Regions from separate parts of the Homo sapiens genome. Here region 2 is linked to region 1. The links are contacts of gene promoters, found by promoter capture Hi-C in human tissues and cell types (Jung and others, 2019). All regions are on one chromosome and are shown on one strand. Each heading gives the region's core, a stretch centred on a gene start or on the middle of the fragment in contact. The rest is flanking DNA. Distances are from core to core; before and after follow the strand shown.

The links. The method cuts DNA at HindIII sites, captures the fragments that hold promoters and counts their contacts. A contact is called where the count stands out against the background at its distance.
Region 2: a fragment that was not itself captured here is called in contact with the fragment with the promoter of LRRN3 in region 1 in 1 of the 25 tissues and cell types used here (spleen).

The regions. Positions count from the first base shown.
Region 1 is chr7:111,089,480-111,092,867 of GRCh38, reverse strand. LRRN3 (leucine rich repeat neuronal 3) reads right to left here and starts at 1,741. Exons shown (of 3, transcript NM_001099658.2): 1 at 1,364-1,741. The region is part of intron 3 of IMMP2L (inner mitochondrial membrane peptidase subunit 2); the gene reads left to right. The HindIII fragment of the contact is 6,407 bases long and covers 1-3,303 here.
Region 2 is chr7:110,937,257-110,940,644 of GRCh38, reverse strand. All of the region lies in intron 4 of IMMP2L (inner mitochondrial membrane peptidase subunit 2), which reads left to right. Among named protein-coding and RNA genes, the nearest start is that of LRRN3, 150 kb to the left of the region's middle. The HindIII fragment of the contact is 5,017 bases long and covers 1-3,388 here.

The DNA of each region.
Region 1 (3,388 bases), core at 492-2,991:
CAGGAGAGAGCTCCAGAAGATGAAATACAAATGCTAGGTTTCTTTTACTGTCTTTCCAGGACCCAGTAAAGAGGGCAGTGAATGTTTCCATGAATATCCTCAATTGGTGTTGTCTGTTTGAAAGCATATTCTAAGTAGCTGGCTTCCCTTTACAAGATTGGAAGTAAAAATTAACCCACACTGAATTCCATGAATCATCAATACATGGATGCTCATAGAGTTTACTGAGAGTAATTCTGTCTCAAAGGCATTGCTTCTGAAACTAAAGATGAGAAATATATCAGTAATATTTATGGTACCAGAGCACACTATTTTCTAGGTAGATATTTTGAACCTTTACTTCTATTTTTGTTTTCACATTATCCCCTTTTCACTAAATTAGGACGGTTCTACTCATATTCATAGCCTGCTTTCACTGAAATTAGAGGCAGAGAAACAAGGACATATTGTTAAAAATGAATAAATTAGAGCCGAATTAAGCCATCCAGCTCAACAACAGCAAAGGGAATATAGCAGTTGGTTAGAACAAACAATTTTCTTAAATAGGAAATGTACTTTAAAGCCATCCTGCTGTGATCCTGTTAATTACCAAAGATTAGAACTCTTCTGGTTCATGGGATCCTTTCACCTAGTGTGTGGCAGTTCCAGCTGCATTAGCAATCAGACATTTGCACTGTCCCTTCAGACCAGCGAGGGGATGTTATTAAAGGGAAGTCATTTACCCCAGTCCGTAAGATGTAGCCTGGCAGAAATTCAATAACTGTTTGTGATATGCTCATTCTGCTACTCTGCTTAGTGGTTTAGCTCTTAACATACAACAGCATTTGCCTTAATTTGCATCCACTGGATGAGACAAAATAAAAATGCCCCATTTGGTGGGTTGATTTCAAAACAGAGAATAATGTGTGATCTGCTTTTCACTACAAATAATGTGAAGAAAAAGGAAAATTGCACCCCATCACCCGTGACTCTCCTCTCCTCTCTGTCTCCTCTCTGTCTTCTCTCTTCCCCATCTCCTTCTCTCTCCCTCTCCTCCTCTCTTCTCCCCCACTGTTCCCTTCTCTTCTGTCTCCCTCCTTTTTCTCCTCCCCCCAACACTGCTTTTTCTCTCCCACTCACATCCTCTAATGGGCATTCAAGCTAGTAAAATGCATGTTGGAGAATCTCACAAACACAGCTAGGCACACACAGAGCCAGCTGGGTTTTGCATGTGAATTTCTTCTCAAAAGTGCAATAAAAGAAAAATGCTCTTAGAATTCAGACAAGAAGAAGACATCAAAGGAGGATTTAGGTGTAAAAACATGATCATCGAAGAGACAAGAAATAGAACGTATTTTAAAATATATGTGTATTTTAAACTTACCTTGAAAAGCAGTTTCAGTGCTAGCCCACCTCCGATGTCCTTGCGTGCTGGATTCCTCAGTTCCTTGGTTGAGATAATCACATGGTTGTGTTCTTGCCCGGTATAAATAGGTGCATTTGTGTGTCTGTGTAACAAAGTGTACAAAATATATACTATAGATATGCACACATGCACGCAATCTTATCTCTCTATTTTAAAATATAAAGGAAGGCAGGAGGCTGCAGCCGGGATTCCTTCTTTTTCCTGGAACTCTTTTTCTCAGTCGGCAGGCTGAGGCTCTCAATCCAGTGAAGAGAGATCCTGTGAGCTGGCTTTATTTTTCCTTGTTTCCATGGTGGTTAGTGGTGCATCGTTCACCCGATCAGTTGTCACACTGACATGGTGCTGCCTGCTCAGCGGTCATTAATAACTGAACACCCTCCACTCCCCAGAGAGGAGCCAATCGCTTCAGACAGCCAAGATGTAGCACTCGCAGCTGCTCCAGTCTGGTTGGCTGAAACAAACTGTCTGTTCTATGACACTGCTGCTTAGGATACAAATAAATGAAACAGGCTTGCATGTTTTCCTAGGTATCATTTTCCTTCTTTTTTTTCCTTTCTGAGGGAATGTTGGGAATTTTTGACAAGTTTTCTCAATTTTAGGTTATCAGTCATTCAGAGAAATATGTTTTCAGTCTGCAAATAGAGAGGACACACTACTGATAAGGATTTCCTAAATATTAAAAACACCTGGTAGAGACTCAAACCTCCAACTCCGTCTCTGAAGTTCAGCAATGACTGCATTATTTAAGAAGAGAAGCTTGCAACTGTTTTGAGTGGCATTTGGTTCTCTATAGATCCTACTTAATTTAGCATATGTGCTTGGTGTTCAATAACACTTTTTTTTTTTTTTTTTTAGCAATGACATTTCTTGTCTGGATTGACCAGATTTTTAAAATAAAGCATATATTTGCCTCTCTGTAATTCACAACATTGGCATTTGAGGGGGTACTTTTTAAAAATATGTATTTCTAATTATACTCACTGACTTCTCTTTATATGATGTAATAAATCTAGGAGCTACATATGAATGGGTACATGTGTAGGTGTGTTTGTGTATCTGTGAGTGTGTGTGTGTATTTAGGATGTATTTTTTACCACTCTGGGGAAATATTTCGATTGTAATAAGTTAAATTATTTAAAAGACTATCTTTATTCTTAGGCCTATTAACTCTGAAAGGATATTTCCCAGGAAAATATACTATATAAGCCATACATGTAAAACATTTTTATTAATTACCAGAAATTTGGAAAACACAGAAACACATAGCAGTGCATATTTCTGAAAGAACATACATGAAAAATCAAAAAGCAGTTTTAAAAATGCATGTTTTACAACCTTAATTAGTATACTAGAGAAACATCTTGTTGAGGAGAATGGAACATGAGGATTAATATATCAACAGGTCAAAAGCAGGCTAGTCATGACTCCAACCCCAGTTTTGAGAGACTACCCTCTAGTGGAGTAAAGAGAAATGGCACTTATTAGATTTACTTAGGAAAAAAAAAACAAAACCTTCACATCTAATTGCTCCTTAAGTGCTTATTGACATGACATAGAACAATAGTTTGCAGTTATTATAATAATAATAATACCAGGAAAAATTTTAAACAGTAGGCTTGTCTTTAAATACTGAATATTTTCACTCTGTAGTTTTCTAGAAACAGTTCCCAAATGTTTTTTTCTATAAGAATTTATTCAAATGAATCAAAATAAGTTCAAGATAAAAGTAGCATCTCATTTAACCTAATACTTATTTCAGAATATTATTGTAAGGTTTTATTATTTACTGGATACTCTAGTATTTACTCAGAAAGCACTGAGTCAGTTCTGTATGTTAGGGATCATGGTTGAGTGTTGGGATGTTGTGTTAGAGTATATTTACATATAATTTAATGTACTTTTAATAATAGTAATAATCATCCTTCTTACCCCTTAATTTTAATCTAGCAAATCTTAGTTTCTTTAATATTCCAAATTATTTCA
Region 2 (3,388 bases), core at 519-3,018, 150 kb after region 1:
TTATAGATGAGGAGATTAAGGCCTGAAAAATTATGTGACTTCCCAAGTTTCCATAGCTGCCTAATGAAGTAAAACTCAGATCCCTTAACCCTTAGTCTATCTTGATGTGCCAATGCTTATTGGAAATCTATAAACTTCAGTGCAGTTATCCTTCATTCTGTTGGGTGGCTGAGTGGCTGAATGAGATCTCTGAAGATCCTTTCTATTTCTGAGATTTTATAATTTTTTGATTACTAATGAATAACCATCAAATATGCATATTTGGAATTGTTTTTATTTGTCTATGTTGTTATATAAATGTTTATTTTAACTTTTTTTTTTTTTTTGAGATGGAGTCTAGCTCTGTTGCCCAGGCTGGAGTGCAGTGGTGCAATCTTGGCTCACTGCAAGCTCCAACTCCCAGGTTCAAGCAATTCTCCTGCCTCACCCTCCCAATAAGCTAGGATTACAGGCACCTGCCACCATGCCTGGCTAATTTTTTTGTATTTTTAGTAGGGACGGGGTTTCACTATGTTGGCCAGGCTGGTCTGAAACTCCTGACCTCATGATCCTCCCACCTCGGCCTCCCAAAGTGCTGGGATTACAGGAATGAGCCACATTATTTTAACTTTTTAAATGGTTATCCCACTGTGATATCTCTGGAATTAGATCTCCCTTATTTCCAGATAAGGAGACTCTCTCAGTCAATGGTGTAGTAATGTAGTACTACTGTTTTGCCCACATGAGTATATAATGTCAGAATGTGTTTTACCTTTTAGCAAAATATAGCATTGGGTTCCCTTCTTTTGCTGTGTCAGAACTTCAACAGTCTTTTCTGTGTAAGCCCTCTTTTGCTGCACTTGGGAGCTTTTCTAACAGCCTGCTATGTTCTATTGTTGATGCAATGAATACAGCGAGATACCCACATTTTGTTTAAAGATAGTCACTGAGCTGTACCCTACTGCCAGCCTAGATGACTGCTTAATTATAGGCATGCTTTTCTAAAGGACATATATTTGTTATCTTCCATAAACAGGGAGACAGTAAAAGTCATTTGGCTTACCTTCCTAGGGATGAAGGTTCAGGAAGGGGAGCTTCATTCAGTGCTTCATGCTGTTGTCAACACTAACTTTACAGGTGACCCAGGAAATTGTGAAGTAGTTGGGGCCGTAGAACAGACTTCGTGCCACAGCACAAAAAATCTTATTACTTTTTTTTTTATTCCCTGTGTACTCGCTTTACAATTTTAGAAACAACTGATTTTTTTTTTTTTTTTTGCAATTTTGCATTAGATCAATGGTTTTAAAAATCTGGCCAAACATGGAAGCTCTTGGGACACTGAAAAACACAGATTTCTGGAAGTCACTTCAGAACAACTTAATTGGAAACACCCAGGAATGCAGCCCAGGGATCGGTAATTTGTAAAAGCTTCCCTGGGACACAAAAAGTCTTGGTCCCATTTCAGACCAGTTAAATCAGAATCCCAGGGGTGATGCCCTAGGATCAGGCATTCTAAAAACTCTCCAGGTAACTCTCATATATAACCATGGTTGAAAACTACTTCTCTATACTTTCTTCTACCTTTAGAAGTCAGCTTTGGGAGCTCTATTTTCTGCTTTAGAGGATTTAGCAATGTAAACTTAGCTTCTCAGTGGCAAATAGAGTCTGCCTGTCATTTGTATGTTCATATGTGAAGTGGTCCGGAAGTCAGTTGCAGAATCTGTACTATTAGAAGCTTAAATTTTTGGTATATTCAAACTTCATGATAGAGTCAAGAAAAATTATTTGCATATAAAAGGATCCAACATTAATATCTTCATTCTATCTCACTCCCTGCTATCTCATCTTCTGGTAGGAACTGCATATTACATTTAACGATATTCTTCCCCTTAGGTGACCATTAAAAAAAGAGCAACTATTTTTGTATTGTTTTGTAGATTTAGGGGGTAAAAGTGCAGTTTTGTTACATGGATATATTGCATGGCAGTGAAGTCTGGGCTTTTACTGTACCCATCGCCCAAATATTGAATATTGTGCACAAGATCAGTTATCTTTTTAATCAGAAACTCCGTCAGTGCTTACCTTATTCAAATGCATAAGCTGTAGTGGCATACATAGATGAATAGTTTTGGAGGGTATGTTTGGATTTCTTGTTGTTTCATTTGGAGAAAGGGTAGTTATTGGAAACATATTTTCAGTAAAGAAATGTGTTTCCTGTCCAGTCTAGCTCAGAAAATGCTGTCACACTGCACTTTTTCCACCATCCCTCTTGAGGCCTCAGCTCTACTTTTATGTATCCCTTAGCTGTATGGCTTTTATTATGAAATACTTGCCTCCCAACTAGACTGAATTTCTCAGCCAGGAGGCATTTGCGGACATTGTTTGATACCCCTCCCTCCCTACTAGAATCTAACATAATGCTGAACACAGATTAGTATGCCATAAATGTGTATTGAATCATTTATTGATAACCCTGACTGCCTTTTAAGGATGGTAGATCCTATTAAGTTGTTTTGCCATGTACCTGACAGACGATAACACGAAAATTGGGAGTTTGGAAGCCAGGAAGAGCTGAACTGATATGCATACTGGGAGAGGAACTTAGAATGAGGCCTGGGAGGAAGGTGTGAGGAGCATGAATGGGAGAGAGATAGGGTTAGGGGGACCAAGGAGATAAAAAAGGCCACTCAGGGAACAGAGGCCACTTCATATGACTTTCAAATGTTTCAGTAAGTCTTTGAAGTTCTGTTGCTTGGTGTATGTGAAGTTCTTGTAGAAATTGGCAGTGGCTTTGTATGCATCCTTCTTAACACAGTTGAAACTGAGACAAGATTCACTGAAGGAAGATCCAGCAGAGGCTGAGATACTACTGTGAAAGCATAACATGCCTCTTCTGCCAGGACATAGTATAAGGTATAAAATGGGTTTTGTATCTTCACAAACAAGAACTTGGTGGTATAAGCCAAGCTTAGCTGGCTTTGCGAAGTATAATGAGTCAAAAAGTGACCTTTCTCCTACTCCCATTCTTATTCCCAGTTGTATGGGGGTTGAACCATAAAATATTGCCATCTTTTAACTCAAAAATCATGAAATATAAGCAATTTTGTGACATCTGGGGTAGAATGACTGCAGTCATCCAATAGAAACTGTTGACATTAAGTCTTAGAAGTGTGAATCCCGCCTAAGCTTGGAGTACCCGGAAACTGCCTTCAGATACATAAGCTCTTTGAACTGGAGTCACTTACTCTGTAAGCCTCTTCACCCCCAAACTGTGCCACCCAAACTGGGTGTACATAAACCCAGTGGCCCACGCCCACTCCTCTTAATGCCATATTCACAGCCTGAGAAGGGATCTTCACATATATTCACATCACCACCCTACCTTTATCTCTAGTCACATGACACTGTA